Regions from separate parts of the Homo sapiens genome. Here all the other regions are linked to region 4. Evidence: promoter capture Hi-C in 16 types of primary human blood cells and fetal thymus (Javierre and others, 2016). All regions are on one chromosome and are shown on one strand. Each heading gives the region's core, a stretch centred on a gene start or on the middle of the fragment in contact. The rest is flanking DNA. Distances are from core to core; before and after follow the strand shown. Region 1 overlaps NEPRO-AS1 (NEPRO antisense RNA 1). Region 2 overlaps RMP64 (ribonuclease MRP subunit p64). Region 3 has its middle 4.0 kb from the start of GTPBP8. Region 4 holds the start of USF3 (upstream transcription factor family member 3).

Region 1 (6,219 bases), core at 2,695-5,194, 640 kb before region 4:
TTGTAGATACGCAGCGTTATTTCTGAGGGCTCTGTTCTGTTCCATTGATCTATATCTCTGTTTTGGTACCAGTACCATGCTGTTTTGGTTACTGTAGCCTTGTAGTATAGTTTGAAGTCAGGTAGTGTGATGCCTCCAGCTTTGTTCTTTTGGCTTAGGATTGACTTGGCGATGTGGGCTCTTTTTTGGTTCCATATGAACTTTAAAGTAGTTTTTTCCAATTCTGTGAAGAAAGTCATTGGTAGCTTGATGGGGATGGCATTGAATCTATAAATTACCTTGGGCAGTATGGCCATTTTCACGATATTGATTCTTCCTACCCATGAGCATGGAATGTTCTTCCATTTGTTTGTATCCTCTTTTATTTCCTTGAGCAGCGGTTTGTAGTTCTCCTTGAAGAGGTCCTTCACATCCCATGTAAGTTGGATTCCTAGGTATTTTATTCTCTTTGAAGCAATTGTGAATGGGAGTTCACTCATGATTTGGCTCTCTGTTTGTCTGTTATTGGTGTATAAGAATGCTTGTGATTTTTGCACATTGATTTTGTATCCTGAGACTTTGCTGAAGTTGCTTATCAGCTTAAGGAGATTTTGGGCTGAGACAATGGGGTTTTCTAGATATACAATCATGTCATCTTCAAACAGGCATTACCATTCAGGACATAGGCATGGGCAAGGACTTCATGTCTAAAACACCAAAAGCAATGGCAACAAAAGCCAAAATTGACGAATGGGGTCTAATTAAACTAAAGAGCTTCTGCACAGCAAAAGAAACTACCATCAGAGTGAACAGGAAACCTACAAAATGGGAGAAAATTTTCGCAACCTACTCATCTGACAAAGGGCTAATATCCAGAATCTACAATGAACTCAAACAAATTTACAAGAAAAAAACAAACAACCCCATCAAAAAGTGGGCAAAGGATATGAACAGACACTTCTCAAAAGAAGACATTTATGCAGCCAAAAAAACACATGAAAAAATGCTCACCATCACTGGCCATCAAAGAAATGCAAATGAAAACCACAATGAGATACCATCTCACACCAGTTAGAATGGCAATCATTAAAAAGTCAGGAAACAACAGGTGCTGGAGAGGATGTGGAGAAATAGGAACACTTTTACACTGTTGGTGGGACTGTAAACTAGTTCAACCATTGTGGAAGTCAGTGTGGCGATTCCTCAGGGATCTAGAACTAGAAATACCATTTGACCCAGCCATCCCATTACTGGGTATATACCCAAAGGACTATAAATCATGCTGCTATAAAGACACGTGCACATGTATGTTTATTGTGGCACTATTCACAATAGCAAAGACTTGGAACCAACCCAAATGTCCAACAAGGATAGAATGGATTAAGAAAATGTGGCACATATACACCATGGAATACTATGCAGCCATAAAAAATGATGAGTTCATGTCCTTTGTAGGGACATGGATGAAATTGGAAATAATCATTCTCAGTAAACTATCGCAACAAGGACAAAAAACCAAGCACCACATGTTCTCACTCATAGGTGGGAATTGAACAATGAGAACACATGGACACAGGAAGGGGAACATCACACTCTGGGGACTGTTGTGGGGTGGGGGAAAGAGGGAGGGATAGCATTAGGAGATATACCTAATGCTAAATGACGAGTTAATGGGTGCAGCACACCAGCATGGCACATGTATACATATGTAACTAACCTGCACATTGTGCACATGTACCCTAAAACTTAAAGTATAATAATAATAAAATAAAAAAATAAAAAAAGAAGCCTCTCATTTGAATCAAAGACTCAGAAGGCATAAGACTAATACGTTTTATTTAAACTTCTGAAATGAATTTTGGTTTGGAATTAGATCTGAATATATAGGTCTAAACCCTAGTTTAGAGTCTTGAGTGTTTTAAGAATTAGAATTTTCCTGGGTCACATGCTGACTTTCACTTTCTGGAAATGTTTTAAAATGAGCGTACAAGAATTTTATAATGATCTCAAAATACACAAAATGATTGTTCACGAAAAGGAAGAGCAAGTGTGGAGAAATGAGAAACCAGTTCGCAGCAAACAGAAATAAAAAGGGGATGGAATTAAAACTTCTCTTGCTGAGAAATCAGATTCTCATAGAACAACCGTTCCAACTCCATTCATTTAGATGAACTCCGTTCATTTAGATAATAGCTTGAAGTGTAATTATTCCCCGTGGACCTTTGCGCTGACACTTCACAGCATTTGCCTCAGAGATCAGTCGTTATGGCTTGTTCAATACCCGTTTTCTCCACCAGAGGGCAGCAAGAGGCCGCACCAAGATTACTCTCTAAATGAGTCATTCTGGCTTCAGTGAGAAGCCACGTGGAGGAACCTACTACGTTGCAGCCCTCCTCTGCAAACCAAGATCCGCAACCTCAGACAGAATGGAGACAAATCGCCTTATCCCTGGCAGAAGATTTTCAGATAATCGGAGAAACGTCTCACAGGCAAATGCACATGATTTCAAGGCTTGCCCTCTGAAGAAGGAGTCAGTGGTGGTTTTGGACAGGAATGGCATCACTTAAATGTATTTTCAAGGAGCAGAGTCACCTGATGCTGAGAACGGCTAGACTAAAAAAAAAAAAAGAAAGAAAAAAAGTTGATAGGTACTCGAATGTGTTTTATCTGCGTTAAATACGAAATGCCCAAGAATGGGACTTGGAGAAAATGAAATCATTATTTCTACTCTTTGACAGCCTTGAGACAAAATTTCCAAGTCAAATTTATAAGGCCTCGGATTTGGTTGCTTGTTTTGCTTTCTTCTGTCTTGCCAGTTACCTCCTGAGAGTTGGGCAAAGATCAGTAAGATCCCTTTGCTGTGGCTGCCAGCAAGTCTGTGCCTGATTTGACGAGATTCTGAAAAGGTACCAGTGCCTCCTCCCTCCAAGGCCTCTCGTGGAACATAACACCCTAGAACTATGCCAAGAGACAGAGCCAAGCCACATTTCAGTGTCTGCTGCTGCACCAAGCTCTGAGCAGAGGCCATCTTTTCTGCTCAAGAAGTTGTTACTGAATTCTTTCAAGTGCTTGCTTTGGGGACAAAAATGATCAAGAAAGATAGTCTCTGTACAACCAACATTTCCAGGAAACCCATTATTTGTGCATTATCTGTATACTCACAAACACACATAAGCACATGCACACATGCCAAGACACAAAAAGTTTTCAGTTAAGAGAGTCATGTTCCTAAAAGCTTTATCTTTTACACCAGTATTTATTGCTGTCTATCTTCATAAGGTCTACTGTGGGAGATGCTGGCATAGAAAGAACTTTGCCTCAGGAATATACGAGAAAACATAATCAGGGCAGAAAGCAGAGGTATTCAAATAACAAGGTCCTAAAGTGTGTTGCAGCTGATACATGAACTCACATCTAACTCAGGTCAACTCTGGGATAAAAATGAGCATCGAACAGTCTCCTCCCACAAGTATGTAGGCACCATGAGAACAGCAATGTTTAGTTTCTTGTTCCATCCTAAGTGCCCGGAACATTTCTGATGCTCAATTAATGTTTGCCAAATAACAAAAACACTTAGGGAATGTACCATATCAGAGACAAACATACCGTCTCTCAGTAAGTCCCTCCAGCATTAACACAGATTGTGATTTCTTTAGGTTGACACTAGCTGAAGTAGTTGGCTTGGATTTAGGGGCCATGTTGTATGCATCGTTAACAACAATCATATCTAAAGGAGCAAGAAGCTCACCCAGGAGAAGTGTGTGGGCACAGATACTGGTGGAATGAATGGAAGACTCCCATCTAACGCTCTCTCAGGAGGGTTGCTGGATTTAGCAAATAAAAATACAAGGTATTCAGTTACATTTGAATTTCCGATAAATGAGTTTAGCATGGGACAAACTTATATTCAAAAATATTCATTATGTATCTGAAATTCAAAATGAACTTGGCCTCCTGTATTTTACCTGGCAAACCTACCATGGGGCATACACTTTCTGAGTGGAAAGGTGGGAGGATGGTCTGACTTTTTCAATTGTAACCTCTCTTTCTCTCTGGGCACATAGGTTGTATCCTTTTAACTTTAATGTATGAATGCCATTGTAGTATGATAATCACAGTGGATTCCATTTAATCCCATTAAGTGTGCCATCAGAAATCCCAGTATTTTGAAAATGTTCCCTGAGCTTAACGATTTGAGAACCACTAGTGTACAAACTTTAGTAAGCAGCCTTCTTTAATCTGAAGGAAGGGTGTGCCCTATAATCTTCTTCCTCCCCTTCACATTGGGAAATTATTTCTGGGCGGATACCTTTGTTCAAAAGGTTGAAAATAGGCTTAGATGGCACTGTATTTCCTAAGTAACTTCCTGCCAATTATCAACCTCTTCATTATAAAGTGGGTCTAATACCCCACTCAGGGGGTGACGCAGGGGTTCCTAATGGAAGAGTATGGGAAAAAAGGACTCAATTAAGTGATGATAATATGAACTCAACTTTTCCAACACAAATAAGGCTTAGAAAAAGTGATCCCCAGACTTCTGTTCAAAACATCTTGTATTAGTCCTGGACCACAGCCAGTCTTTCCTGAGAACCCACACCTAGCTGTGACTCTAAACAAGTGATGAGTTCCTAGTCACAGTCTTAAAGAGACCAGGTCCGCCTGAGCAGCCCTGTGCTTTATGGGCCAACTCAGCCAGAAGCTTCAATGAATAACCATGATACCTTGAGTGGAGGCAGGAGGAGTGGCCGGAGGCAGAGGAATCCAGCTACTAACCAGGGAAAGGATTCAAATAGATGCTTTTCCATTAGAAAGTCTCTGTTCAAATGACCTCAAGGCTTAAAATTATAGAATTTTGTAAAGAAAATTCTCTTTTGTCACCTATAAGCATTATCACTTTTTATTGAATTATACTATAAACAAATATTGTTTAATTGAATGAGACTAATTAAATCAATGAAAATACAATGTTTACCTTTTCTGGAAACCTTCAGTATATTATATGGCATTTAAGGCATTTTACAAATTAACACCAATCTATCTTTCCAATCTTATTTCCTTCTGCTTCTTTCTGGGACTACTACATTCTAGCCAGAGGTTTCTGCACCTTGGCACTGTTGACATTTTGAAGGGGAGAATTCTTTGTTGTAGGAACTATCCTGTGCATTGTAGGATATTTAGTGGCATCTCTGGCCTCTATCCACTGGATACCAGTAGAACATACCCTCCCCGTGCAAGAGTGTGACAATTTAAAAATGTCTGTAGGCATTGTCAAATGTACCCTGGGGGGCAAAATCACCCCCATGAAGAACCATTGGGGGGCAAAATCACCAGCACTGAGGACTACTGCTCTGTCCCACAAGACAACTTTCCCTGCTATGAACACATTTTCTCAAGCTCTACCCACACTCCCCCACCACACCACACACACCTTTCACTCCTGTTCCCTTGACCTAAAACACCCTGCTTTCCCCCTTTCCATTGACAAACTTGTATTTATTCTCCAAGGCCTAAATCAAATGCTATCCTACATAGCTTTCCTTACAATCTATGCCAACTTTCCCTCCTCTAGGCTGCTGTGGGCATTGCACACATCTTTACTTGTACTAATAGTGTTGACCATATGATGTTGCAATTATTTATTCACCCTTCCCTCCTTCTCCCGAGAGGCTATTTCTCAAGAGCAAGGTCTGTGTAACTATACTACCCAGCATGGTTTTCTGTCCATGCATGTCTCTGTGAGAGAGAGAGAGACAGAGAGAGAGAGTGTGTGTGTGTGTGTGTGTGTGTGATCTGACAAATAAATATATACAGCACTCTGCTTTGTTAAAGTGTAAGACAAAGTCCTAAGCTATACCATTTACTATATTTCCTAAAGAAACATGTGGATTTTAGTTCTCATCATGTAGATTAATTGGTTAGACTAGATCTCACTAGACCTTATGTTCCCACAAATCTGGATTACTATTTTTCCAAATATGCATGGTATTTTCCCATCTCTACATCACTGTGGAAATTGTTTTCTTCACCTGGAAAGTTCTGCTCTCCTTTCTCCCTGTCAAAATCCTCCTCAAACACCACCTCTACTTTTCACAGTCCTGGACACACACACACCATGCACACACACCACTCACACACACACACAAAACACACATGCAACACACATGCTGTGGTTTCTTCTTTCTGAGAGAGCCCTTGCTTTTTTATCTTCTTTTCTAACTCTCCTAACTTTCTGTCTTATCC
Region 2 (6,440 bases), core at 2,447-4,946, 690 kb before region 4:
AAAAACCACCACCACCACCAAAAAAAACTGTAGTATATCCATACCTGAGAAACATTTTGGCTGATCTCCATACGGACGGACAGACGGACGCACAGATGGATATAGGAAGACAGATAGATAAATAATATGTACAATAATGGTGATGGTAATTTTTTTAAAACCTAAAAAGTCTAACAAGGTAATTGAATATTTATTACAAAAAGAACAAACTAAAGAGATCAAGACTTATTCTGGAAAACAAAGCAAAATAGAAGATATAGTGAAATTTTTGGAATCATGAAGGAAATGGATCAGATAATATTGATCATCAGATTTTAGAATACTACAAGACGCGGCTGGGGGAAGAGAAGAAAGCTAGAACACATTAAAAGATGTTCTGCTTTCATATATGAAATCATAAGAATTTGTAAATTTTTTTAAGTTGATGAATTCAGATGTTATATCTGAGGAAAGGAAGAAAATTATTTCTCTTTTCTTTTCACAGTGCTGTGACCTTTTCTGGAATCCACCTGTTGAGATGCTTTATAGCCAGTGTAACAGGAAGTCTTGACTAATGGTTCCCGGTTTAGCTGAAGATTCAAAAAAAAAAAAAAAAGCTTTATGCTAACTGGAGTTAAATACCTAGAAGAATTTCAACATTGTTTTAAATGTTGTGCATCTGTAACTTCAGGAGGATCACTTGAGCTTTAAAACCTGTGCCTTCTCGAAACAAGAATTTGTGCCTGAGGTGAAAAAAGTTTGTAAGTTATTGAATTATGGTGTTCATTAGAACAGCTACTAGCTGATTCCCCTATTTTAACAAACTGACAAGAGCACATCCATAAAATGAAAACCTGTTACAACTATGTACAGAAGGGTTTGACGTTTTATTGGGCTTTTGTCTTTTAAAGAATATGTCTACTATGGGTATTTTTTTTTTAAATGTTAAAATGGGCTAGGTAAAAGGGGGCTGCTTTTCTGTTAAGCATCGATAGGTAAGTTGATGGATAAAAGTTACTATGTAAGCCTATTTTTTTGAGTCCTTATTTGAATATTGAAAACATTCTTGATAAAATGTGTTAGTCCATGTTGGAAACAACCGAAAGAACAGAATTCAAGTTCTAGTTCTGATGTTTATTATATATGTTGGATCTTGGGCAACTTACTTGATTTCTCGGAAATTCATTTGTTACTGTAAACGTGAAAGCTATTAAGATTCAAATGAATGGTTTTACAGCAGGTAACATGTGAGAAGACAGCTACATATTTGTAAAGCCAAACCAACAAAGAAATATAGCAAAATTCACAGGTAGATTTATTACAAGAAATGTCCTTTCATGGGGGAAGTAACATTTTCACTAGTGAAAAAGCAAAAAACAAAAATAGCTTTAAGTGAGAAAACTAATTTGTAAAGGGCAAGAGAAAAAAGCTGATGGGACAGTTTAGACTGCTACATTTAAGATTCAGAATGGAAAAATAAAGCCTTTGAACTAAAGTTAATAGAGAAGATTTTTGTGAAGGTGCCACTAACCTATTCATGTAAGTGGCTTAGGTTTTCAAAGTGAAGCTTAATATTAAAAGGTTATAGCTGTATTGCTGGATAACAAATTAAAGCTATAAACCAACTTCGTGGCTTTTCTTTAGAAAACAATCTGAATATATTGTCAGTTTTATAGTTGACAGAATTGGTCTAATCTAAGCAGGAATGTTTTCAGCCAAAAAAAAGATTTTTTAATATAGACATTCATAAAATATATAGTAACAAAAGAATTATCTTAGAAGTCATCTTTTTGTCTGCCAGTGTTACTTCACTGCTTTGATTTATCCTTGGTTCTCCTATAAGCAGAGCCTGAGCCAAAAGCTTACATATGTAAATTTGGGAAGTGATCCCAGGGAACAGTGGCAAAATGAAACAAGACAGACAAGCCTATTAACAACATATTCATTGAGTTAGCCAAAACATAGGCACTAGTGCTAGATCTTGAGGGAACTTGTGACAAGTCCTAGGAAATATGTGTTGTATAGTGACCAGGTCTATGCAACCTACCCCCAAAGGCTGAGAGTGCTGAGATGCCAAAGAAAGAGGCCAACAAATCCAGTTTGTCAGAAAGAAACATTTAATAGGGACTTATGCACAGAAGCCATGTCTCAGGCAGTGATCCCCACAGTTACCCCCCGACCCAGGGCTTATATGCCATAGAGAAAAGGGGGTACATGAAGGAACATGTGAGACACTGAAGTCACCTCCTCAGGGAAAGGCAAGAATGCTGTTTACAACTTAGCCTATAACTTGCTTAAGGCCAGGATTTACAGTGTGTGTGTGTGTGTGTGTTCTTTTAATAGATAAAAGTAGAAATCTTAGAGGGCATTCCAGGAACTGGTTATCAGAAGTCAACATGGTAGATTAGCATCCAAGATGGAAGTTACTTTAGCCTCATACTGTGCCTGTGAATTTCTTTGAGGAGGGGATGGGGTGGCCCCACACCTCTTCCAGGTTGTACATACCCAAGTGCTAGGCAGTTCCTGTAGCTGGTGAGAAGCCCAGGGGCAGGAAGTGAGACATCCCCAGAGCAAGAGGCAAGGTTCAGCCCTGCTTGAAACTGGTTGCCACAGCAGTGACTTTAGTATGAAGGCCAAGAGGATTGGAAGTGACACACAGGAGGTCTCAAACACTGCTCTTATAAATGGCCTGTGTGTCCTAATGCCATCAGAAGTGATAAAGTTGGTACTAGGATGTGGGTAATCCCAGCACTTTGGGAGACCAAAGTGGGTGGATCCCTTGAGTCCAGGAGTTTGAGACCAGCCTAAGCAACATGGTGAAACCCTATCTCTACACAAAGTTTTTAAAAAATTAGCCAGGGCATGGTGGTGCCTATAGTGTCAGCTACTCAGGCGGCTGAGGTGGGAGAATAGCTTGAGCCCAGGAGGTGGAGGGTGCAGTGAACTGAGATCATACCACTGTGCTCCAGCCTGGGCAACAGCACAAGACTCTGTCTCAAAAAATAATAATAATAATAATTCACTACGATGACCCTGACAATAGTTTCTAATCTCATTTACTAGGTAAGTTACAGTTTGGTATACTTTAGATTGCATTTTTTTAAATGTTAAATATTTGGATTTATTTGGAAAAAGTAACTGATACAGAATACTGAATTCCTTATAAACATACAAATTGTCATTTTGTGGACACATGTGAAGCTTTTTTGCCATTTTCCCAGAATAGTAAAGGGCAGAAGATGGGAAAATGAGAGGAGATGAAGATACTCCAAAAGAACATGAATGAATTTGGAAACAAATGCTAGACTGGCAGCCCAGTCCATGCTATATTGTCCTTAACTCACTGAACCACCCTGGTTTTTCCAATGAAAGATAAGCTCCAAAGTTTATTTCAGCTATAAAAGTTTCATTCTTGAAAAAATTCCACTTCAAATCCAGAAACCTAAGCCTGAGGAAACTGACTAGCTCAGTGAAGCCACAAGTAGGAGAAGCAAGACTGAACCTTAAATCTCCTAATTCCCAGGGAGTTTTTTTCTGAATCAGCTAAATGAAGTATTAAAAGAGGCTACTTAGGGGACTGGGTGCATGAATATAGACAACTCTCAGCAAATAAGCCCTATGGTCCACAAAGCTATACACCAGTTCTCTTACTAATTTACCTTCTATTTCCCAATAGGTAAAGGATATTCATTGAACACAAGGACACTTAGAAGTTAATGGCCATTTCTAGACTTGTCTAGAATGAAATCTCCTTGGTATTGTCTGTATTTTAAGGCACTAAATGGATACTACCACTTGGTAGAAAGCCAAAAGGAATATGAAAACTGACTACAGATTAAGAATTAAACCAGTTTACTTAAGGCTTCAGGAGAGAAGCTAAAGTAGTGTTTATATAACTGGATTTGGGGGCCACCTGGATCAAAATCACTTGGGCTCCATGTTAAAAATGCAGGTTTCTGGCCCCTGTTTATCAGTCTCTGGGAAAGGGCTAATCTGCATCTTTTAGCAACCCACCAGGTGATTCTCAAAAAGTCTAAAGTTTGAGAACCACTGGTAGAGATAACTGAGAAAATGGAGAAGGCAGACAGGGAAAGAACAAAGCCAAATAAAGAATGGAAGGGAAATAACTTCTGTTATGATAGGGTGGCTGAGGAAAAGAAGGATGCGGTACATACTAAGGTACTACTTTCTTTTTCTTTAAATCTCTATGTAACAAAAGTTAAGGGCACTAGAGAAGCTTAATAACCTAATTCTAGTAAAGTTAGAACATTGGAAAGATACCTACCTCAAACTTCACATCATTATTTGAAAATACTCAAGATGTACTCCCCTCAGAGCAACAGTACGAGCAACATCCCCTATCAGATGACAGCATCAACACCAAATTATAAATGTTCTAGCCTCATTCCTGGGTCTACTTTGTATCTCCTAACCTCATTTTTTCATTTTACTTTCTCATCTACCTGTTATCCTATTATATTTCATATGTAACCATAAACCACCTTATTGCCTTTTTGTAAAAAGGTTTATTTGGAATCAATCACTGGTACCCAAATAAATAAAATTAAAACGTTTTGGAGAACTCCAAACTCACTTTAATATGAGATAAGCCAAGCAAATGAAGAGAAATAATGGTTGTAACCAGTCCCTGGTAATACAAGCAGTGGCAAACCTTGTTGATCAATTCCAACATATAAACAAGAAAACATAAATGTCAGGAGCTACAAACTTTAGTATTCAGAGGCGGACCTATGTATAATGGAGCCAATAAGACCAAATTGACCTTTCAGGTGTTTCCTTGCTATCTCCCACCCCCGCTCCTCATTTACCTCAAGACACAATGGTTTTTGCAAACGATTATTAAATTGCCTAGTAAGTCATAAAATTATTCAGTTTTTCAGAGACTTACTAGCCTCACTCAAGGAATTACATCTGCTTCTCAAGGGTAGGCTGTGGCAGATTTTTCATATTAACACCTGACATGTAGTTGAAGCCAAAAAAGAAATACTTGTTGATGAAATGACACAATGCTACTTTAAATGTAGACTGAACTGAAATGAACTCCTGTGCAATGCTGCACTAAAGCAGCTCCTCTGTGAGTCCAGGTGGTACTTCCAGATCTTAGCAGTTCTACTTAGAACACTGAACTAGCCTTGTTAATCACTTAAAAGTCTCACATATGAACGAACATCTAAACTCCCATTAAAGCAAAAATATCATCAATGTCATCTGTCTCCTTAATGGTTCCTGATGTACTGTTTTTATTTATTTGCATCACCGTCCACGAATCAGTTTCATTTTCATGGATGCCTCTAAGATTTTCATGAATCATTTTCTCCTTAGTTTGTATGACAGGCATTGAAACTCCACTATTCAAGAGCTGCTTACTGTTAGGGTAGAGATCAGTTCTATGCACAGTACAGTGTGAGAGTCTCCACTTAGCACTGGTATCTGTAGCACTCTTCCGAGTCCCTTGAGAGAACTGCTGAATTTCCCTTAAAAGAGTCGACTGCAACTTTCTCTGTGGTTTCCTTTGTCTCCGTAAAAATTTATTCTGTGATCTTCTCTGTCTCAGATGATGCTTTGAAGTTTTGATACCTGAGCCACGAAGAAGGTGGTTGCAAATAGACGTTTTTATGCACTCTAGTTTCTTTGGCAAACTTTAAAAGACAGAGAGAGGAAAAATCTGGGCTTAAGATGAGAAAAACATTCTCAAGCACTTTTAATTTACCAACTGAAAAGAAAAATACACAACTTATCTACAAGTCCTATGCCTGTGTACAATCCCAGAACCACATCGAAAAATTTCACCCCAAGTCTGTTTTTTGAGAGCACAAATGCCCTCTGATTGAAGTGTAGACGAATGTGTCCCCATTTTGCTTTCAAACTCTCAAAAGTACAGCCGCCTAGCAATTAGCTGAATGGCGAGATACCCTATACTTTAGTGTCAGAGCTTTTCCCTCATAACTGCTAATCTGTTCATAATGTAATGAGTGGACATGAGGAAACATCACAAATGAAAAAATCTGCCAGTACGTATTAATCCGAATCTGGATAATCAGCTTCATGCTGTGGCAGGAAATGAACAAGGAAAAAGGAATAAAGGCTAAGAGGGGTTTATAAAACAATATGAAGACAGGGCTTCTGGCCCAGATACACAGACAGCCTTAAGCTACCCTAATTATGATTCATATGTCATCTTCAAGTTTGGAAATTCAGAAATCAAACAGCTGATCATTTTAGGTGTTTTGCTTCCACACACGGTACACTGCCACAAGGTTCATCAGTGCCTTGCTGAATTGTTTCACTGTTTGTGATAGATTTTAAAAGACGGGCATGGATATAAAACTTTGAGGAAGCCCATTATAATAAAGTAAATCATGATCTTTGCTTCCATACCATTTTCTTATCTCACTATAAGCAGTGGCTTTTAAGTGGGGAGAAGGTGGGTGTACTTCAGA
Region 3 (7,011 bases), core at 3,352-5,851, 710 kb before region 4:
CCTCCCAAAGTGCTGGGATTACAGGACCAAGCCACCATGCCCAACTCTTACAATACTGTTATTTAAATTTCTTCTTTTCACCTTCGCAGCTCTTAACTTTTAAATTCTTTATATTTTTTATCCCTTCCTAATATTTATTGAAATATTCTCCAATCTAATTATCCTGCTATTTTGTTCTTTGAGTTGATAATATTATTCAACTATTAAACACATCCATTGAGAAATTTACTTCACAATAATATAATTCATATCTAATATGTTCAACTGGTACTTCTTAGAAGCTTCCTGTTTCATGTTTGCCATATATTCCCTTATCTCTGAGGATATTTTCTGTTTTTATTTAAATTCTTTGCCCACCAAGTCCATTCATTCTGATTACTTCTAGAATGAATTATCTTTTTCTTACTTTTTCTTCTATTGCTTGTGGGTTCATAATGTGAGTTCGTGAGATTATACTATTATGGTAAAATCAGCTATCTTTTAAAAAAAATCAGCTATCTTGGTAAATAACAGATACCTAGAGAGAGGAGTGAAAGGCTAGGTTCTGACTTGCACTAGTCTAGGCAGAAGAGAGATATATCACAGCATTCTGGGCTCAACCACTCGTGCGCCTGCCACCCATGAGATCCTGCCTATTAGGTAACCACCTAGTACCACTACACCAGGCATTATTCCTTTCTAGAGAGTAATCACAAAACATTGTTTGAATCTGATTGTCCAGCCCCTAGAGGAGGATGGGTAAGGAGGTTGGAGGGAATGTTCAAGGACATTGCTGCACTCAACTCCAGCTAAACCTGATGTTCATACCAGTTGAATCACCAATTCATTGCACTCCTCTCCAGAGGCCCCATACTTTATTACAGGTGGCTGAGACAGCAGCTTTGATTATAACCTCCTTCCACAGGAAGAATTCTAGTTTTGCCATGTCCTATTAAAATGACTAGAGAAAGTCTGTCCCACTTTTCTCAAAAATCTCCAGAGAAATCACTTGTATTTAGAGCAGAACCTGGAATACATCTTTCCTACAAGTATACAATCTCACAATAAGTGCAGGTGAGAAACTTCTCATTTTTAAATGTTTTTATCTTTTAATCTATGTGCAGAAAACAGTTCATATAGCAGGCCTGTGGCTGCTACCCTTAGAAAGATTTGTTTACAAGATTGGCACTGGGCTGACATTTGAGAACTTGACTGGTAAACAGTTTCCTTGCATGGCACAGAGCCAACTTTCCATTCATGAGTGGCTCACTGTATCTAAACTATTTGAACAAACAAGTGGTACATACTGATGCTGCTTTCCTTCTGCAAATCTGAACTTTCAGTGACTATAGTCAGTCACACAGGCACTAGATGCCTATATGAACAGCGCTCGGTAAAAACCCTGGACTCCTAGACTCAGGTGAGCTTTGCTAGTAGACAACATTTCACACATGTTGTTAAAACTCATTGCTGGCAGAATTAATTGCATCCTGTGCAACTTAGGGGACAATTAGAAGCTTGTGCCTGGCTTCCTCCAAACTTCACTTTGAGTGCCTTTTCCCCTTGCCAGGCTTGCTTTGTATTCTTTTGTTGTTGTAAATTATAGGCATAAGTACAACTATATGCTGAGTTCTGTGCATCCTTGCTCGCCTCATTTGGGAGCTAGTCTTGGGAACACCTGACACACTCTACCTATGAATAAGTTAAAAATTTGAATATACATCAATATATCTGCCTGTGAATGTTGCCTCATCTCCTCAGGGTGTTAGAGAACATTCCATTCACTTCCAACAAGGCAACAAGATATAAACTAGATGTGTACTACAAAGTAAACTTGCCCACTAAAATAACCTTGCTTAACACACAACAAGAATTAAAATGTTAACGAATTAATCAGTCAGAACAGCAAAATCCATACTATTTTCCAAAAACAATTTTAAAAAAACCCTCTGAGCTTGTTACTGATATAAAAACACAACCTGAATATGGTAAATAGTGTTCCAAATTATTTTAATAGCACTTGTATGACACAGAGCCAAATGCAAAATTACGAATGAAAAAAATTAAGACCACTTAAAGCAATCATTTCTCCCTCTATTGATAAAAACAACCTTGAAAGAAGTGAACCTTTACTCCTCCTCCAGAATCCAAATCACTCTACAAACTCACCTCCTACCTATGATTACTGTCTGATGGTTAATCTCCAGATCTCTTTAGAGAAATCTGTCAGTGCAGTAGGCACAACCTTAAAAGAAAGCTCAAACAACTTCTCTGAAAAAGAAACAACTTCTCTAAATTTAGATATATTCTCTAAAGACACATTAATCAGATATTTAAAAAGCTCAATGCTTTCATGAGCTCCAAAGACTAAAATCATGGAAAATAGGTCTCTATTGGTTCTTGAATTATAGTAAAATAATAAATCTCAAGAATAATAATTTATGCCCTAATTAAGAAATTAAGCCTGGGCGTGGTGGCTCATGCCTGTAATCCCAACATTTTGGGAGGCTAAGGCAGGATGATTTCTTGAGGCTAGGAGTTCAAAACTGACCTCAGCAACATAGTGAGACTCTGTCTCTCCAAAAAAAAAAAGCACACACACACAAAAAAACTTTGTAAAATTAGCCAAGGGTGGTTGAGTGCCTGTCGTCTCAGCTACTTAGGAGGCTGAGGCAGGAAGATCACTTGAGCCCAGGAGGTTGAGACTACAGTGAGCCATGATTGTGCCCATTCCAGCCTGGGCAACAGAGCGAGACCTTGTCTCTAAAAAAAAAAAGAAAGAAATTAGGTGAACAAATCAAACTTGTTGTGCCACAAATTTGTGTCAATGTGTCAGGTAATATCTAAAGTAAAATTTTAAAATGAATGTTGCACAGAAAACTCAAGAAAAATATAATTAATTGTATTTTAAATTTAAATCATTCATTCAGATAGTAGTCATCACAATTTAAGTAATTTATGTGGAAGTTTCTCCCATATCATGCTCCTTCATATAAAGCCTCTTTCATCTTCCTTTCTCCCAATATTTTCTTCCTAATACAAGAGTTTGATATCCTAATTGGAATGTAACCAGGTCTTTCTCATAGTTTATCAGTACTCAGATAAATTCCTGGCATAGCAGACACCCAATAAATGTTCATTATTGTTGTTAAGACAAGCAGAAAAGTCAGGGTAAGAAAGGTCTAGTGGAAATCAGACACTGAGACCTAATCCATTCCCTCTCTCTATTTCTAGAAGTAAGTTTTGCTAGAGTCCCTGCTCTTGCTTCTGTCAGGACATTCAAACCATGTTTAACTTAGGATGGGAGTTATCTGATGTTCCCAGTGCCCCTACCTATCTAGGCCTACAAAGTTTACCTTCTTCATGTCTTAGATGGATTCCATAAGCTTGAAACCTATAGGACCTGGACATAAATTGGGATCACTCTGGACCTAATGGCCATTCACTATAGAGGCAGACATCGCAGTAAGAACAATTGAGAGGATCCTGTCCTACCTATCTTCCTTCTATTCTTAGCTGAGCATGACAGAGTATAACTATGACATTTAGGGCAGATGAATTTTAGCAATAAAAGCTGATTCTGGGGATGATGTATAAAGTAACGCCTGTCAAAGTCATATTAAATTTTTAAAACCTTGTTAACTTTGTGGTAAACTACCTCCTCGTTATCAAAACAGAAGGCACTTTTTCTCAGAAGGTTGGCCATAAATACATCCTAAGTCAAACTGGGAATAAGCCATGTGATTATCTGGGGTAAGCATTCCAGGGAGAAGTACAAGGACACAGAGGCAGGTGTGTGTATATGGCTTGCTTGAAAAACAGCAAGGAAGCCAGTGTGGCTGGAATGGAGTAGAAAAGGGGAAAAATAACAATAGATGAAGTCAGACAAGAGTGGAAGAAGAAAATGAAAGTTCATGTAGGGCTTTTTAGGTTAGTGCAAGAACTTTTTCTATGAGTGAGACAGGAAGCTCTTGGAGGTTTAGCTTATGTTTTAACAGGATCATGGTTGCTGCCACTGAAATGGGAAAAGTACTCTTGTCCCGCTCGAAGGGCATGTGACAAGGAATGGCTCGCTTCTTCAGGGCCCCACTGCTCAAACCTCTAGGGGAGCATACAGACAGGCAGGTTGTGGGGCTCCGACCCCACGGCAGCATCTAGGGGTGGATGTTTACAGCTCCTGAAGCCTCAGTGGGCATCTGCTACCGTGTGCGCTTTTAGTTTTGTCATCTATAGGCAGCTTGTGTTAACCAGCTAATTAGACCGTCTACCTTGTCACAAGGACAAAGAGTTTTCTATATCCTGGGTTCTTGCCTTGGTGTACTGGAAGAATCGGATCACACATGGGCTTGGAGAATGAGTGCATGGTTTTGACTGGAAGTAGCTCACAGCAGATAGGGGAGCCAGAAGGGAGATGGTTTTCCCCAGGAGTTCAGCCACTCAGCAGCCCTCCAACCGCCCCGGCCAAACTCTGCATCATTCTACTGGTCAATGGCCTGCTGGTGGGCAGCTTGCTCCCCTCGACGTCCTCTTGACATCCAGCAGCTCGTGTCTTCTTCCACCAAGGTGTTCCTCTCAAGGTCCAACCACTTGTGTGTCTGCCTGCTAGGTGTCGGGGTTTTTATAGGCACAGGATGGGGGTGTGGCAGACCTGGGTGGCTTTGGGAAATGCAACATTTGGGCACAAAGCCAGAAGTGCCTGTCCTCACCTAGGTCCGTGGGCACAGGCCGGGGGTGGAGCTCTAGCCAGGGACCTGCCCTTCTCCTCACAATTCCCTGCCCCACTTCCCTGCCCCACTTCCCTATCACCATGTTGCAAATATACTGAAGGGGGCAAAGGGCAAAGGTGGGTGATCAATTTGAAAGCTACTGCAATAATCTAGGTGGGAGATAATGGTGGCTTGTATCAGGGTGGTGGCAGTGGATGTGCTAAAAAGTATCCAATTCAGGATATGTTTTCAAGGTAAAGCCAAGGGGATTGCTAACAACTTGGACTTGGGGTAACAGAAAAAGGAGTCCAGAATTTTCTCCCAAGATTTTCAGCTAAGTCAATTGGAGGAATGGAGGTGCCATTGTCTCTTACAGATTAGGAGACAATTAAAGGATATTAGAAATTCTGTTTTGGACCTAGGAAATGGGAGGCGCATATTAGACAGCAAGATTTTCTAATCTACAGTCCTTCTTTTCCCTACTTGGACTAAAACCCTATTCTGAATCTTAGCCCTGACCTAGTCCTGATCTAGCAGGCTAGATCCTGACTCCCAATCTACACTTATTGGCTAAGCTCCTACTCCACACACAAAAAGACCACCTCGAACCAAGATGCTGCCAACAACAACAGATTCACAGTACTATTGCCAGAACCCAGAAAGTCCTGTCACAACATCCTATCCACCAGACTTGATTCCCTTCAATACTAATTTTGTTTTTATTATTTTTTTAGGGACAGTCTCGTTTTGTTGCCCAGGCTCAAGCGATCCTCCTGCCTTGGCCTCCCAAAGTGCTAGGATTACAGGTGTGAGCCTCTTTTCCTGGGCTTTGATAATTCCCTGTAGACCAGATGATTTCCACTGCAGCCCTACAATGGGGTTATTATAAACTAATTCCTCCCAATTCTAGCCCTCACCTGTCTCACTAGTAGGTCTCACTGCTATGTATGTTTCATATTTGAACTTCTGCAAATTATGAGTTTAATCATGTTGAGGGAAAACATAGTGTATTATTAACTCTAAATCATCCTGAAGTTTTATATGCTTTGTTTACACAGATGCTTTTAAAAGATGAAGTGAAAGAGAAAAAAATATATAAATTGTCAAGTGGTTTTACTAGTCATACTTCTTTCCAGTAGACCGTTTGATCCTTCAAGCTTTGCATGACAAGACAATTTGTTGCAAAAACTGTCCTGTCAAATAATTCTAAAATGATTTGTCCTATCAGGTGAAATCCAAAATGATTTAGAATTCAGAAACATGAATGATTATTAAATGAATACTATAATGTCTATTAATCCCGGAACACCTCTAAAACCTTTCTAAGAATCGCCAAAACTCTTTTATGCTCTTATTTCCAAACCTGGGGTTCCAAGGTTTGAAAACAAAATGGCATGTATAAAAGCACTTTCAAAGTATATTACATACACAGCGTCAGGCCTCTGAGCCCAAGCTAAGCCATCATATCCCCAGTGACCTGCACGTATACATCCAGAAGGCCTGAAGATCCACAGAAGGGAAAACAGCTTAACTGATGACATTCCACCATTGTGATTTGTTTCTGCCCTATCCTAACTGATCAATGTTCTTTATAATCTCCCCCACCCTTAAGAAGTTTCTTTGTAATTCTCCCCACCCTTGAGAATGTACTTTGTGAGATCTACCCTCTGCCCCTAAAACATTGCTCTTAACTCCACCGCCTGTCCCAAAACCTATAAGAACTAATGATAATCCCACCACCTTTGCTGACTCTCTTTTGGGACTCAGCCCACCTGCACCCAGGTGAAATAAACAGCCTTGTTGCTCACACAAAGACTGTTTGGTGATCTCTTCACATGGATGAGTGAAACACACACTAATGAGAATCCCAAATTTCTGATGTATACAACAGAGTATTATACACACTTTTATACATGGAGGAGAGAGAATAGCGAACAGAAAGGCACCCCAAACCCTAATGCAAAGAGCAATAAAAAATTAGCCAGCCAGCAGCACATCAGGCTGCCGTATTGGCTGCCCTCAAAGTCGCAGGTTCTGTTCATTAATTTTTGTATCATATTTATTCAAGAATTGTACTGTTTAATTACTGAACAACCTGGGGAATAGCTCAAGAAACCATGAGTTACCCTTTCTGGGCTGCTGATGTTTTAGAAAACCTAGTTTTTTTAACATATGAATATTTTTCAGTTATTCATTTCATCATTATGATACCTGTATCTCCCATTTCAGTACTGATCGACTTTAGGGAGAAACTTTTGAAATAAGATGATATTACGAAACGTCCACGAAACAATTCTGTAACATCTGTGCAAAACTGTTTTTATAA
Region 4 (6,325 bases), core at 1,679-4,178:
AGAATCTTTTAACCATGTAGCATAGAAGTTCAAAGGGGGTCGATCACTAAGAACTAGAGTAAGCTATCCAGAAAACTTTCATAAAAGTGTAATTAGAACTATTATTGGCGGTAGGGAGGAATAGAGGAAAGGTGTCCATATCCTGAGAAAGGTCAACGTCAACGTCTGTAGCAAAAGCAGTGGGGGGAAAGTTGGACACATGAGTGAGGCCTGATTTAGGAAAGCCCAGAACACAAGCTTAGCTTTTGGACGTAGTCTCATGGGAGTTCTCAGCCAGGGCTACTGAACAGAATCACCTGGAGAGCTTTAAAAAATATGCCCATGGCAGAGCTTTACTCCAGATCAAAAATAAGAGAGTTTCTGAGGGAAGTGGCCTGGGCATTAAAACTTAAAGACACACAAGGTGATGCTCATGTACAGTCTGGATTGAGAACTACTGGACTAGAGAACAGAGAGGTAAAGCATGACAGATATGATTAAGGCTCAAGCTTGATTTAAGACCCTGTTTATAAGCAACAAACTTGAGCTGATTACCTGTTGAAGCTTGTATTCTAACCTGAGTTAAAAATTCTCAGTTTTCTTAGTGTTTCTTTTCCCTTGTTGACAAGGCTAAGCTCTGAAAATAGGAAAAGTACCCATCAATTTCTCATACATGACTGGTTCATTGAGTGTAAGGTCTACAACCTTAGAATTTTACTTCCACGATGTTCCATAGACGACTAACCTAGAAGATAAGTACTTCAATTCTAAGCTGCTCTTACATCCCTGCAATGCACTCCTTTTATATCAGCGAATGTTCTAGGCTGCATCCAGATTTTGCAAAACTCCTAAATACAGGGAGATCCCAATACCTATGTACACCTAAGTCTTTTAGCTTAGACCAGGAGTGTCCAATCTTTTGACCTCCCTGGGGCACACAGGAAGAAGAAATGTCTTGGGCCACCCATCAAATACACTAACACTAACGATAGCTGATGAGCTTAAATAAATAAGTAAATAAATATCACACACAAACATCTCATAATGTTTTAAAAAGTTTACAAATTTGAGGCCGGGCGCAGCGGCTCATGCCTGTAATCCCAGCACTTTCGGAAACAGAGGCAGGCGGATCACCTGAGGTCAGGAGTGCAAGACCAGCCTGGCCAACATGGAGAAACCCTGTCTCTACTTAAAGAAATAAAAATTAGCTGGGCTGGTGGCATGCACCTGTAATCCCAGCTACTCAGGAGGCTGATGCAGGAGAATTGCTTGAACCCAGGAGGCGGAGGTTGCAGTGAACTGAGATAACACCACTGCATTCCAGCCTGGGCGACAGAGTGAGACTCTGTCTCAAAAAAAATAAAAGAAAGTTTACGAACTTGTCTTCTTGTCTTGGGCCGCATTAAAAGCCGTCCTTGGACGGGGGTTGGAAAAGCTTGGCTTAGGCTAAAGCAAAACTGCTTTAGGATTAAGCATTCATTCTTGCATGGATACATTACACTACTTCTGCTTTCAGAAGTGCAATTACAATGTATTTTACTTCTTTTGTAACAAATACTTTGAGTACTTAAAGAGAAACAACACATGTATCCCAAACAGCAACTCTGTACTATGTTAAACAAGAGTTCTATGGGAGAGAAAAAAGTCATCAAGGTGAATGGAGAGTAGGACAGCCTGTTGATCCTTCAAAAGGCAGGTTTGTCTGTTTGGTTTTCTTTACAAAAGAGCAAACCTGGGAATATGTTTCAGGATCCATGTAACTCACCGTAAGATTTATTCAAGAAATCTGTACGTTGTTTATAGGTAAGGAAATGTCTTCTTTGCCTACACAGTTGGCCACGACTGTCTTGATCTGTGTGGTGTTAGGTTACTGTATCTACTTGATGGTAAAAATGTTACAAGAACGGAAGTTGAAATTCTGCACTTTGGTTTATGCAGTCTCATATTTCCAGATAAAGTTAATAAACGCAAAGGACCATATCCCAATGTAACGAGGAGGGTTGGGAGGACAAGCTTCAAGAACGAGTGGGGTGAATTCAACTATCAAAATTGTAAACATGAACAAGAGTCCAGGAATCTTATATTTCATCCGGATACATGAAAGTAGATTTCAAGAGTTGGTCATTCACTTGCACTGCTTCTACTCAGAAAGCAAAAGAACGGCTTCTAAAAAGAAAACACAAGCCTAACACTTCGACAGAGGGGTGAGAGGGAAAAAGCAAGCCACATGAGTCTGACGAACGGGTACGAAAGAAATTCAGAGGGCAAGGAAAGAAGGGGAATGAAGAAGACAGGAAAAGGTGAAGGAGGCGGGCAAAGGCCATCTGGTGTGAACCTGGCTGCCCAGCTCTTTATGCACCCAGGGCAGCGTGGGGCCCCTCTCGCCCCGCGCGCATCTAGGAGCTGGGGCGCAGTGCGAGCCCCCCACGGGCCTGGCAGCCGGGGACGCAGGGCGGGCGGGAGATGAGGGGTGCGCTCGCCGCGGGCGCTGACGCCCCACCAGGTGCCGCACGCAAGGGTCCCCAGGAAGGAGGCGCACTTAGCGCAGCCCTGGCCTCCCGGAGCAGGAAGGGGGTGGGTGGAGCTGAGCCCGGGGCCGCCCTCCGGAGCCGCCCCCGCAGCCCTGGCCCCCGCCCCCCGCCCCGGCTGTCAGCGGCCCCCTCCCGCAGTCACTTACCCGCCGGCTGCGCGGTCTCGGCCGCGGTGGCGGCGGCGACGGCGGCGACCCCCGCCTGGGTCATGATCCCAGGAGGGGAAGGCAGGAGTGTCTGACCGTCTGGGCGAATCTCTCCGTCCGCGGCCACCGCCTGCTCCTCCGGGGCTGGGGGAGCGCGGGCCCAGGCCCTCCTCTCCCCCCGCCCCCGCCGCCTCTTTTTGCGGCCACCGCAGCCGCTGCGAGCCCGAGCCCTCAAGGCCGGAGACCCGGCGGCAGCGCGGCCTCAACTTTCCCAGCCCCCCTCCCCCCGCCCCTCCCCGCCCCTCCCGCGGCCGCAGCTCAGCAAGCGAACAGCCTACCCTGGGCGCGCCGCGTTCCCGCCTCTTTCACTCAACCCGCCAATCAGGCTGCGGGAACGCTGCCGTGGTAGCCAATAAGAAGACAGAATGCCGTTGCACTACGCTAGAGGGCGGGAGGAGGCGGAGAGGAAACCAAGGAGTGAACGGGGATCGGGCGGCCCAATGAGGAGGGCCGGGGGGCGGAGGTGTGCAAGTTGGGTTGAAGAAACAGGAAATATTCTTAAAGGTAGAGTGACGGACAGGAAGGAAAGCCAGTAGGTGAATGGGAAAGAGGTGGGCCTGGTTCCTTAAAGGGGACGCCTTGAGAACCTAGAAAAGAAGGTGTTTTAAGAAACTTCTTTGTATCTTCTTCTGTGGTCTCTTTTCTTCGTCTTTCGGTAGGAGTTTGGAAGTGGAAAAATTGAAAAGGAAGAGGGCACGGAAGTCTTTCGGAATAGTTAGCCCCTCTTAACGTGGAGGGCAGGAAGGTGAGAAGATACGTCTTAGTAAATGTGGAGAAGAAAGAATCAGACGTTTCCGACTTCTCGATAACTGGAAGATTGTTGCTGACTTGACGCTGCTCGCATTCGTAGGCTGTGGTCTCTTGTCATCCTTTATTTGCAACAACACACAGATTTCTGTGAATTGGAGATGGCCATGTTCAGAAATGCCCTGGGGGCCTCCCAGCTGGGACAAGGGAGTTTGGCATTGGGGGATGGGGTTTGAGATCTCAAGCCTGGGTTACTAAATACCTGGATCTAGGAGAGGTAGGGCCAGGGGTCACGAAATGGAGACCTGAGTGCCCCTTAACTCCAGGATCTGTGTGGAGCCCTTGGAACCGTGATCACAACTCCCTCTTCCTAGTTTCGCTTCATATTTTATAACCTCCTGCTGAAACAGGTGTCCTCCACCTAGTTGCGGTTATAGATTTCCAAGCCCTTCCACAACCAGATTTGGAAATATCCCAGATCTTAGATGTCCGTGGGCTAACTTCCAGAAGGTGCACACAGGGCATGGCATAATGGGAATTACTTGAGCCTGTATACAGAAGCAGCAGACATCGCATTGAGCAAAAGGGTAAAGGCTAACAGTAACGGAGTCTTATGTTTGTACAGCAGATTGAAAAGCTATGATGAAACGGAAGGCCTGTAATGTTGCTTATAAACTGTGGTACTAATAAACAGGCTAGAAATTTTCTTTAACTCATCCATCTAGGCACACGAAGTTCTAATTAGCCTTTGAACAGACTTGGCACATCCAAATCAAAACTGCAGATAAGAAAGATTCTACGAGTCAGAGCCATAATAGCAATGCTAATAACATCACCATAAAATTGTATAGTATTGGTATGCTCAGCCATAGGAAACAATTTCCAGTGTGTTCAGAATACAAGGTATTTCTCGTTAACAAATATCATATCCAGGGTGTGCATGATTTCCTAAACAACTGCAATGCATCAATTCTAAAGTAAAAACAAATAGTTTTGATGATTCATGAAACAGAATTTAACCATTCCTTTAGATCACCTTTAAAAAATACACATTAATATATTTCTGGCACGATATAGACGTAGAAAAGAAGAACAATTTCCGTTTGATAAAGATCAGAATATTAGCTTTTTAAATTAATCCTTATTACCTAAGTGTAGCCTAAATCCCAAACAGGGATTTTTCTCTTTTCTTTTCTTTTTCTTTTCCTTTTCTTCCCTTTCCCTTTCCTTTCCTTTCCTTTGTTTTCCTTTCCTTTCCTTTGTTTTCTTTCTTTTCTTTTTTCCTGCGACAGGGTCTCCCTCTGTTGCCAAGGCTGAAGGTCAGTGGCACTGTAACAGCTCACTGCAGCCTCCACCTCCCAAACTCAAGCGATCCTCCCACCTCAGCCTCCCAAGTAGCTGGAACCACATGCCCGGCAATTATTTTTTTCTTTTGGATAGAGATGGGGGTCACATTATGTTGCCCAGGCTGATCTTCAACTCCTGGGCTGAAGCCCAGAGATCTTTTTTTTTTTTGGCTTTACCCATTCAACATCAGTTTCAGATAATCACACCAGTCCTATTTTCAAACTAGCTGGCAGTGCTTACAGTGACCTATATTGGTGGTAAAATATACTGGCCAAGTGAAACTGGTCTATAGGGCTGTTAGTTCATTTTTTTCAAGTGGACAGAGTGAATCTGATTTTCACCCACATTCTTGAGACTTTTCAATGGTGCTGAAAGACTATTTGCATGATATATAAGTACTTCCTTGCATCCCCAGTTTCATATCAAGACCTCCGTTTTTTCCTACTACTGGAGATGAGTGACTGCGGGAGGAGGCTACTGAAAGCCTGGGGCGGCGGCCAGAGCTGCGGGGAGGCCCCGGCCTCAGCTCCACCCACCCCCATCCTGCTCCAGGAGGCAAGAACGCGCAAAGTGAGCCTCCTTCCTAGGGACTACTGTGTGCGGTACCTGGGGGGTGCCAGCGCCCGCGGGGTGCGCACCCCTCTTTTCCCCGCCTGCCCCGCGTCCCCGGCTGCCAGGCCCGTAGATGCGCGCGGGGCGACAGGGCTCCCATGCTGCCCTGAGTGCATAAAGAGCTGGGCAGCCAAGTTTACACCAGGTGACCTTTGCCCGCCTCCTTCACCTTTTCCTGTCTTCTTCACCCCGTCTTCTTTTCTTGCCCTCTGATTCTCTTTCGGAACCACTCGACTCCTGTAGCTTGCTGGGTTTTTTTAGTTTTTCTTGTGTGTTTGTTTTTTGAGACGGAGTCTTGCTCTGTCGCCCAGGCGACTCACTGCAACTTCTGCCTCCCGGATTCAAGCGATTCTCCCGCTTCAGCCTCCTGAGTAGCTGGGATTACAGGAGCACGCTGCCACGCCCGGCTAATTTTTTTGTATTTTTAGTAGAGATGGGGTTTCACCATGTTGGCCAGACTCGTCTCGAACTCCTGACCTCAGGCAATCCGCCTGCCTTGGCCTCCCAAAGTGCTGATTTCAGACGTGAGCCACAGCGCCCGGCCTTTTTTTTTTTTTTAATGGAGTCTCGCTCTCACCCAGGCTGGAGTGCAGTGGCACGATCTCGGCCCACTGCAACCTCCAGCTCCGAGGTTCCAGCGATTCTCCTGCCTCAGCCTCCCGAATAGCTGGGACTACAGGCGTGCGCCACCACACCCAGCTAATTTTTCGTCGTTGTATTATTTATTAGAGACAGGGTTTCACCATAATGGTCAGGTTGGTCTCAAACTCCTGACCTCGTGATCTGCCCACCTCGGCCTCCTAAAGTGCTGGGATTACAGGCGTGAGCCACGGCGCCCGGTCACTTTTTAACTCTCACTTCTCTGTCAAAGTGTTAGGCTTGTATTTTCTCTTTAGAAGCCAT

What was found. The method cuts DNA at HindIII sites, captures the fragments that hold promoters and counts their contacts. A CHiCAGO score of 5 or more calls a contact.
Region 1: a contact is called between a fragment that was not itself captured here and the fragment with the promoter of USF3 in region 4, in 2 of 17 cell types (neutrophils and monocytes). The highest score is 5.6, in neutrophils.
Region 2: a contact is called between a fragment that was not itself captured here and the fragment with the promoter of USF3 in region 4, in 1 of 17 cell types (fetal thymus). The highest score is 6.2, in fetal thymus.
Region 3: a contact is called between a fragment that was not itself captured here and the fragment with the promoter of USF3 in region 4, in 1 of 17 cell types (fetal thymus). The highest score is 5.2, in fetal thymus.

The regions. Positions count from the first base shown.
Region 1 is chr3:113,049,114-113,055,332 of GRCh38, forward strand. All of the region lies in intron 1 of NEPRO-AS1 (NEPRO antisense RNA 1), which reads left to right. It overlaps LOLI1 (lncRNA oncogene in liver cancer 1), which reads right to left. Exons shown (of 3, transcript NR_189285.1): 3 at 1,800-2,592. Among named protein-coding and RNA genes, the nearest start is that of RMP64, 33 kb to the left of the region's middle. RefSeq lists an enhancer at 2,411-2,590. The HindIII fragment of the contact is 1,464 bases long and covers 3,213-4,676 here.
Region 2 is chr3:113,000,366-113,006,805 of GRCh38, forward strand. It overlaps RMP64 (ribonuclease MRP subunit p64), which reads right to left. Exons shown (of 9, transcript NM_015412.4): 9 at 2,079-5,639. The coding sequence ends at 5,171. It overlaps GTPBP8 (GTP binding protein 8), which reads left to right. Exons shown (of 6, transcript NM_014170.4): 6 at 485-1,604. The coding sequence ends at 554. Among named protein-coding and RNA genes, the nearest start is that of GTPBP8, 13 kb to the left of the region's middle. The HindIII fragment of the contact is 1,036 bases long and covers 3,179-4,214 here.
Region 3 is chr3:112,983,445-112,990,455 of GRCh38, forward strand. No RefSeq gene overlaps it. Among named protein-coding and RNA genes, the nearest start is that of GTPBP8, 4.0 kb to the right of the region's middle. The HindIII fragment of the contact is 2,477 bases long and covers 3,364-5,840 here.
Region 4 is chr3:113,693,714-113,700,038 of GRCh38, forward strand. It overlaps USF3 (upstream transcription factor family member 3), which reads right to left and starts at 2,929. Exons shown (of 7, transcript NM_001009899.4): 1 at 2,657-2,929. RefSeq lists silencers at 2,260-2,649, 2,670-3,139. The HindIII fragment of the contact is 8,785 bases long and covers 1,991-6,325 here.